Regions from separate parts of the Homo sapiens genome. Here region 1 is linked to region 2. Evidence: promoter capture Hi-C in human tissues and cell types (Jung and others, 2019). All regions are on one chromosome and are shown on one strand. The core of a region is centred on a gene start or on the middle of the fragment in contact, and the rest is flanking DNA. Distances in the headings are between cores, read along the strand shown. Region 1 has its middle 33 kb from the start of LINC03133. Region 2 holds the start of FAM110B (family with sequence similarity 110 member B).

Region 1 (4,303 bases), core at 1,097-3,596, 310 kb before region 2:
GCCTAGGGACTTGATGCCCAGCATCCCAGCCCCTTCAGTCATGGCTGAAAGGGGCCGGCATAGAGCTTGGACCATGGCTTCAGAGGGTGCAAACCCCAAGCCTTGGCAGCTTTCACATGGTGTTAAGCCTGCAAGTGCACAGAACTCAAGAATTGGGGTGTAGGAACCACTGCCTAGATTTCAGAAGTTGTATGGAAACACCTGGATGTCCAGGCAGAAGTTTGCCACAGGGGTAGGGCCCTCATGGAGAACCTCTGCTAGGGCAGTGTAGAAGGAAAATGTGTGTTGGGAGCCCCCACACAGAATCCCTACTGGAGCACTGCCTAGTGGAGCTGTGAGAAGAGGGCCACCATCTCCAGACTCCAGGATGGTAGATCCACTGACAGCTTATGCCGTGTACCTAGAAAAGTCACAGGCACTTGATGCCAGCTTGCAAAGGCTGCCAGGAAGGAGGCTATACTCTGCAAAGCCACAGAGGTGTAGCTGCCCAAGACCATGGGAACCCACCTCTTGCATCAGCGTAACCTGGATGTGAGGCATGGAGTCAAAGGAGATCATTTTGGAGCTTTAAGATTTGACTGCCCCACTGGATTTCAGACTTGCATGGGGCCTGTAGCCCATTAGTAATTTTAGTTGAGTTTCTCCTATTCAAACTCATGGTAAGTTTTTCATTCATTCAGTTCTTTTCTTTCTTCTTTTAGTTGTGTTTCAGAATACTGTCATATAGATTTTGAACAATTCTTGTTAAGCATATCCCTATCCCTGTTGTGTTGGATCCCTTCTTCTGTTAGATTCTCTTGTTGTTGTTTTTATATATGATAGCTGTTTATTTCCATGTACTAATTTTGTACGCTGTCATCTTACTAAACTTTTTTATTATTTGCAATAATTTTTAAGTTATTCTCAAGTATTTTCTAGCTATACAGTTATATCACCTATGAATAATGATTATTTTATTTACTCTTTTCCAGTTGTTATACATATTAATTGCTTTCTTTTTTGATTGCTTTGGCTGGTACTTACCAGCTTGTTAAATAATAGTGGCAGGAGTAGACATCCTAGTCATGTTTCTGAATTTAAGGAAAATGTATTCACTATTCATAGATGTGCATGTGTGGGTGTGTATACACATACATATATCTATTTTAAGTAAATACCTATTTATATTAGATATTAAAAAAACCCTTGTTCCAATTTTTTTTAAAAAAGGATATCAAATATTTTTTGGATGTTAAATTTAATAAAATGTTTTTACAGCCTGCATCTATTGAGTTTATTCTTTTTTTTGAGACATGGTCTCACCCTGTTGCCCAGGCTGGAGCGCAGTGTCATGATTTCTGCTCACTGCAACTTTCACCTCCTGATTCTCCCACAATACTCCCATCTCAGCCTCCCAAGTAGCTGAGGTTACAAGTGTGTGCCACCATGCCTGGCTAATTTTTGTGTTTTTAGTAGAGACAGGATTTCACCATGTTGGCCAGGTTGGTCTCAAACTCTTGGCCTCAAGTGATCCTCCTGCCTCAGCCTCCCAAAGTGCTGGGATTATAAGAGTGAGCCACCGTGCCTGGCCCAAGTTTATTCTTAATGAAAATAATCCTTGTATTAGTAGCATAAACCCCACTTAATCAGATGCAATATTCTTTTACTTGTAAGCATGGATTCTGTTTGTTAAATATATTTTATAAGGTCTTTTTCATGAACATTTATAAGTGAGATTGATCTCTAGATTTATTTTCTAGTGTGGTTTTTATGGGTATCAAGATTTAAGAAAACATTTTGCTTAGAACAATTGGGAAGGTCTTCTTTATGTTATATGCAGGAACAGTTTAAAATCACATTAGAATTACCTGGAGAGTTTGCAGAATTCCCCTATGAAAACACCTGTGCCTGGTGCTTTTTAATAGAAAGAAGCCTCTAGATTATTTCCCTTATTTCTTCTATGAAAAATGATGTATTTATATTTTTGCTATATATCCTGAGATCAGTGATAGTAAATTATCTTCTTCCAGAAAAATATACATTCTGAATCTTAGAGTTTGGTTTTCTGAGTTTGTAATTGACGTTTGGTTTTATTGTATTATTGGCACGTATACTTAAAATGAAAGGGAATTCTCTTTACAGTATGTGTTTTAGTAACTAAAGCTATCTGATCATGTCATTTAAGTTTTTTAATGTCTTTGGTTTTATCTATCTGATAAAAATTAAAATCAAGGGAACTGATTAAAGACTCCCACTATTAATTTTTTCATCTATTTTTCATGCATTTTATCTGTTTCATTCATCTTATTGCTGTGTTGTCTGGCAAATAGGTACTCATAAACATCAGCTCTTTGTTGTGGGCTCTATGTTTCATCAAGTTAAATAGTATTTTAATTTTGTTGTTGTGTGAGTAAGTTTCATTGTCTTTCTGTTTTGTTCTCTGTAATTTTAATACTACTGCCAATATTATGACTTCTTAATTATTATAGCTTGAAAATAACTCTTCATATCTGGTAGAACAGTTTCCACCCTACCCTACCCATGTCAATAATTTTTCTTTGAAAATTTCTTCTCTCTTTTTGGTCATATGCTCTTCAGTGTAACTTTTGGGAGCAAATTGTCATGTTTCAAGATGTGTATATTGGAATTTTATTTAGAATTACATTATATCTATGAATCGCTTTGGGATCAATTGATAGCTTTACAATATTAGGTATTCCTGTCTATGAATACAGATCATCTCTTCAATTTGTTAAGTCTTCCTTAATGCCTTTCAGTAGCATTTTCTAACTTGCTATGTGTGGGTCTAGAGCATCTTTTTTTAGGTATATTCCTAGGTATTTTGTTAATATTCTTGCTATAATAAATAGTATCTTTCAAACTCATGTTTTCTAATTTGTTGTTGCTGATATGTAGAAACATGATTGACTCTTATACTGGCTTTTAATTTTTCCACTTTGCTGAGCTCTCCTCATATTTCTAAAGTACCATACTATCTACAAATAATTACATTTTTATTCCCTCTTCTAGACCATATGCCTTTTCCCCCTTTTTCTTGGCTTTGTGCTGGCTAGAACCTCTACTTCAAGCTGACTAGGAGTTATGTTAGTAGACATCCTTGTTGTATTCCTGATTTTAAGAGTTTGCTTATGATATTTTCTCATTTAAATAACACTTTTTAAAATAGTGTACTTTATCAGGTTAACAGGCTCTCAATTAATTAAACATTTTAGTTATGTATCGTTGTCAAATCCTTCAAATGCTTTCTTTTTGTCGGCTTTAACTGATTTTTAAAAATTCACTTTATAGACAATGATGAAATTAGTATATTTCAACTAAATCTATCTTTCTCGAACTTCTCTGCCACTGATTTTTAGTTGATATTATTTAATGTTTGCCTTTGTGTTTTAAAATATACTTATCCTACTTTTAACTTAGTCTTTTTATCTCTTTTGAACTTGTTATATTAAAGATGAGAAAGTCTGTATACTTAAACTACCTTCCGTGTTCTCTTTATTCTTTTACCAAATATTTTTATTTGTATTTATTCATCATCAGTCTTTTAACAGTCACATTTCATTTTGTAACTATAATCTTTTGATTTATTTCAGTATTCAGGTAATACTTACATTATATTACAGTTAAATAATCATATCCATTCCCTTTCCATCGTTTCTACTTTCACCTTTTAGCTGGCTGAAATATATCCTCTAGTACTTTTTCAAGAAGGGCCCTTTGCAAGTATGTTACCGCTTCCTTTTTTCTTTAAATCAGTGTTTAGCTGGGTGTAAAATTCTTGGTTTAAAGTTTTTTCCCTTAAGATAAAGTTAGTTTATCATAGTTTTAAATTTTAACAGTGGATATTATTCTGGAGAAATCTGAGGGTAGCCTGGATTTTTGCAATTATAGGTGTGAAACGGTCTTTCTGCCTAGATGATCAAAAGATTTTTGAGTATGTGTCTTATTCTTTATCCCCAGCATTTTATTTTGAAACATTCCAAAACTACAGACGATTTGTAAGAATAGCACAATGAATATCCATATATCCCTCACCTAGACTCACCAATTTTTAATATTTTTGTCACATTTGCTGTAATGTTTTTGCTGTCTATATATAGTGTCCACACATGCACTTTTTTTGGTTGAATCATTTGAAAGAAAATCAAAGATAGAAAACTATACCCGTAAGTACTTCAATATACACCTACTAAAAATAAGGATATTGTGCATAACCACAAGACTAATATAATGTTCAAGAAATTTAACATTAATGACAAAATATTTTCTAATAAACAGACTATTTGTAAAGATCTGTCAGGAAAGA
Region 2 (4,470 bases), core at 332-2,831:
AATAGCTTACCTGAATGACCAGGGGTTGTGATGTCACAAAAATGAGTACAAGAAATTAATACAAGTATCTTCCCAGAAATCACTACGTGTAAACTGGGGGGAAAATAATAAATACCTTCTTCACCAACAAAGGAAACGAAGAAAATGGAAGTCCTACTATCCATACTGCAAAAATGCTTATTCTACTATCATATTCCCTTTTGAGAAATAGACCAGTTACGCCAGAAGTGCAATGTTGTCACAGATGTGTGCCAGATTTTGCAGAGGACATAAGTTGGCTGTGAGGAAGAACACAGAGGTTGCCTATTTTTTAGGCAGGAAAGAAAGCCTGCACTTTTCTGTGTGTGTGTGTCAATAAATCTGAATAACAACTTGAAAGGGTTAAAAAGCTGAGCACCAGGTGTTTTCTTTCCACTTTCCAGAGTAATTTAAGCACACTGCAAAGTTATCTCCCTTCCTTCCCCACGAGCCAGCTTAAGGGAGACCTGTCACTGCCATTTACACTGTACAGCTCCAGCTCTAAACAATAGGAGGGCACCAGGCTGGGCAGCAGGCATCGCGGCTTCCCACAGCCTGTATGGGCTTTGTTGCCAAGTTATGAGCTCCGCTGGGTGATGGAGACACGAGTGAGCCAAGGAGAATTTAATTCTATTTCAAATCTGTATGCTTTCAAAGAAAATAGAGACAATTGAGGCCACGGGAGGAGCTGGAGGGGGTAACCAAAAACAAACTTTCGGAACCTCAGAATCTACATTTCTAGCAGTAATTCTCAGCAAAGGATTAGGTGGTATTGATACTCTCATAAAGTATTTAACACCGAGATTAGAGACCATTCAGGAGCGGTGGCCGAGCGGAGTCCCCATCCTTCGTAGTCCCACTCCTCCAGCAGCAACCGGCGGCGCGCTTTCGGAGCCCACCTCCGCTCCGCAGCGCGGCCAGCTTCCCCCCGCCCTGGCTCCAACCCCGGCTCCAGCCCCGGCCCCGTGCCCAGCCTCCTAGCCGAGCCCGGGACGTGCAGCCAAGCCGAGCGCAGAGGGGGCGCGGGGCAGGCAGCGGCGCTGCGCCTCCCCCGGCAGCCCAGAAAGCCGGACGGGGTCCGCCTGGGCCAGTGAGGCCGGGCTCAACGGAGACCCGGGCCGGGCGGGGAAGCTGCAGGCGCAGAGCCGGCTTAGCTCCGCGCCGCCTGGCCGCGCGCAGCTCCCGCATTGTCCGCAGTCGGGGCGCGGCGCGACCACTGAACCCGAATCCCAACCCCCGCCCAGCAGTCTCTCTCCCGGCCCCCACGGCCCAGTCTTACCTGGGCCGCTCACCCCAGTCCCTGGCGGTGCGGCCCGAGCCGGGAGCCAGGCTCCGGGGGACTGCAAGGAGGGAGAGTCGGGGCCCGCGAGGGACGAAGGGCCGAGAGCGGGCTGTAGGGGCCGCCGAGTGTTCACGGTCGCCGCCGCGGGGCCGCGGGTAGAGAGCAGACGGGGCTGGCGGAACGGGCCCAGGACGCGCGGCCGCGAAGGGCCCGGCTGGCGGCGGCCGCGATGGTTCGGTCTGCACCGAGTGGGAGGGCTCAGGCAGGCTTCGCCGGAGAGTGAGGGAGGGAACTTGGAGCCAGTTGCTGTGGCCGAGAGCGCGTGTCCCTGAGCCAGTGTACACGCCCCTCGTACACCCCGCCCCGCCTCCATCCCGCCCCCACCCCACCTTCCGGGTCCCCACCCTTCTCGCACCTCCACTCCAAGCCCTGCCTCTCTCTCAACATCTCCACCCCGCTACTGATGCCCATCCCACCCCATCCCTGACCCACCCCCCATTCCACTCGGTCGGCGCCTCCATTTCCTCCCTATCCCCCACTCCCACCTATGTCCGCACGCAAGCACCCCCACCCTGCTCCCACCCGGTGATACCGCTGGATCTCGGACTGCCACCCCAGTGCAGATCGCTCAGCACTGGAGACGTAGAGCCTGTGCCCTGAATGAGATAACCCCACCTGGTAGTCCAGCCATCCAAACGTCTTGGTGCTTGACATTTTCTGTTTACTAACTTTCATATACTCAGATGGAGCGTCCTAGCTTAATTTCTGAAGGCATTTTTAAGACTTCAAAAAAATGTTTGGAGAAAATAGTAAATAACGAAAAATATCAAGCATGATGTACTACCTCTGAAATGTGGGCCAGCTGATGTTTTAAAATGAAATGCTTTGGGGTGCGTCATTATTAATCGCCTAATATAGTATTTGAGAATACTTTCTGCTTAGATTTGCTTAATAACTTGGTTGTTTCAGGAGAGGATTTGTTTTAGGAAGACTAAACACATTGTAATTTAATTTTGCTATTGGGAAGTCTAAAAGATAAAATCCATCTTTATCAAAATGAATTTGAATGGGATATGGACTCACAAAATAATTGTTTCTTCTAGAAAATATTGAGCAAGGATTTCTTTTTAATCTCTGGTACATTAACAATACGATTTCACTCATCTCATTTTCTCAGAAAGATCGTTTATATTTGAATTGTGCTTCAATTCAATGAATCTATTGTTTCATAATAGTTAAGAAGTTGCCAACTAAATAAAACTCAGACTTTATAATAATATATTTTTTTTCTATTTAAAGATTACCATTTTAAGAAAGTGACATGATACTGGGATTTAAATGGAACTTTCCTTTGGCATACTAATACATTCCTTGTTATCACAGATTACGTTGTGGTCTCCATTAACTCCAAAAGTCATATAACAATAGAAATAAACTATTTTTCATCATTCCCATAGCAAATGGAACCAACTTCTCTCCCTCTCAAGTATACTTTTTTTCCCCACTTCTTTGCCCCAATCCCTTCCTTTTAGGAATTTCCCCCTCCCATTGGGTGTGACTAGCCCACAGAGCTTCCTGACATTGTGAGGGATATGACCCAGGCCAGCCAATTAGAATATCGTCTGAGAACAAAGGAGGAGGGTCCTTTCCCTGACTGACAGGGCAGCTCCTGGGACCATATCATATATGCGTGCAGCAGCTGGAGTCAACTTACTGGAGAATAAAACAAAACCAGAAAAAAAGCCAAACTGAGCAATGGAGACAGAAAAGTGCCCTGATGACATCAATGGCCATCCGAAGACAGTCACCTCTAAAACCAGTCAAATCCTGAACTTCTGAAGTAATGCACCAATAAATTGTCTTTCTTGCTTATGCCATTTTGAGTTAAGTTTCTTTCCAGAAGACTCACTTATAAAATCATAAAAGATTCCCCTATGATCGATGCTTTGAAAATCAGGAATGTAACCAATGAGTTTTAGCTTTCTTTCTTTTTTTTTTTTTTTTTTTTTTTGATGACAGAGTCTCACTCTGTCACCCAGGCTGGAGTGCAGTGGCATGATCTCCACTCACTGCAACCTCCACCTCCTGGGTTCAGCAATTCTCCTGCCTCAGCCTCCCGAGTAGCTAAGATTATAGGCACGGGCCACCACGCCCAGCTAATTTTTGTATTTTTAGTAGAGACGGGATTTTGCCATGTTGGCCAGGCTAGCCTGGAACTCGTGACCTCAGGTGATCCACCTGCCTCAGGCGCCCAAAGTTCTGGGATTACAGACGTGAGCCACTGCGCCGACCAAGTTTTAGCTTTTCTATTGCCTAAACTACTTCTTGATAATAAAGTATATGCCAAGGAGTTCACTTAGTAGGACCCCTAACTCTTATTATTAAGGTTCTCATTTAGGGTTTTACTATTGCCCAGTGTAGATTTAATAGCCCCAAATTGTCATCACCAAAACCAAAAACCAATAAAAGATGTGGTTAAAGAGACAGAGAGAACACAGTAAAACATCTATGCTGGAATATTTCAGTAAATATTGTCTTATCAATTATGCCAATAAAACTGCTCTCATAATCCCTAATGTTTGCTGATTTAGGACATAGTTTTCTTGTTTTGGGGACTGAAAATGTTAAGGACTGCTACAGATTTTCAGAGAATGTTGAAATTAGTTGTTTGTACTAGAATTTTATTGTGTTGTTTATTCTTCAGAAGTGGGCCATTATCCTAGGCTTGGAATTCTTTTGTTTCACAGAGGTTTCTGTCTCTAAAAGTATGTAACAATATTTGACTAGTACCCAAACAAGCATCCATACACGAATCAGAATGTAATTTAACCATTATTCACAGGTGACTCTGGACAGTGGGACTATTCCTAGCAAGCAGGGAGCCTAGGGACATGCAGTTATTAGCTCTAATCCTCTGACTGCCAAAATGGTTTCTTACGGGAAAATGTGAGCTTGAAAAGACATGAGCTCAGAGTTTTCACTAGTCTTTCTCCAGATGGGTACGTACCTAAGTTGTGTCAACAACTAGGGAAACTTTAAATGTATAAAAGCCCGTAAGCTGAATAATAACATATTATAAACAGATGCAAGCCTCACAAAAGGAGAGCATCTCTGAAAACAAAACAACCAAAGCAGCTTCAGAGGAAAAGTAAAAAAATAAAGAGTTCTGG

The links. Contacts are between HindIII fragments. The study calls those that stand out against the background at their distance.
Region 1: a fragment that was not itself captured here is called in contact with the fragment with the promoter of FAM110B in region 2 in 1 of the 25 tissues and cell types used here (aorta).

What each region holds. Positions count from the first base shown.
Region 1 is chr8:58,303,105-58,307,407 of GRCh38, reverse strand. No RefSeq gene overlaps it. Among named protein-coding and RNA genes, the nearest start is that of LINC03133, 33 kb to the right of the region's middle. The HindIII fragment of the contact is 6,947 bases long and covers 1-4,303 here.
Region 2 is chr8:57,991,634-57,996,103 of GRCh38, reverse strand. FAM110B (family with sequence similarity 110 member B) reads right to left here and starts at 1,581. Exons shown (of 4, transcript NM_001377989.1): 1 at 1,298-1,581. RefSeq lists an enhancer at 630-1,130 and silencers at 1,135-1,184, 1,205-1,254. The HindIII fragment of the contact is 16,250 bases long and covers 1-4,470 here.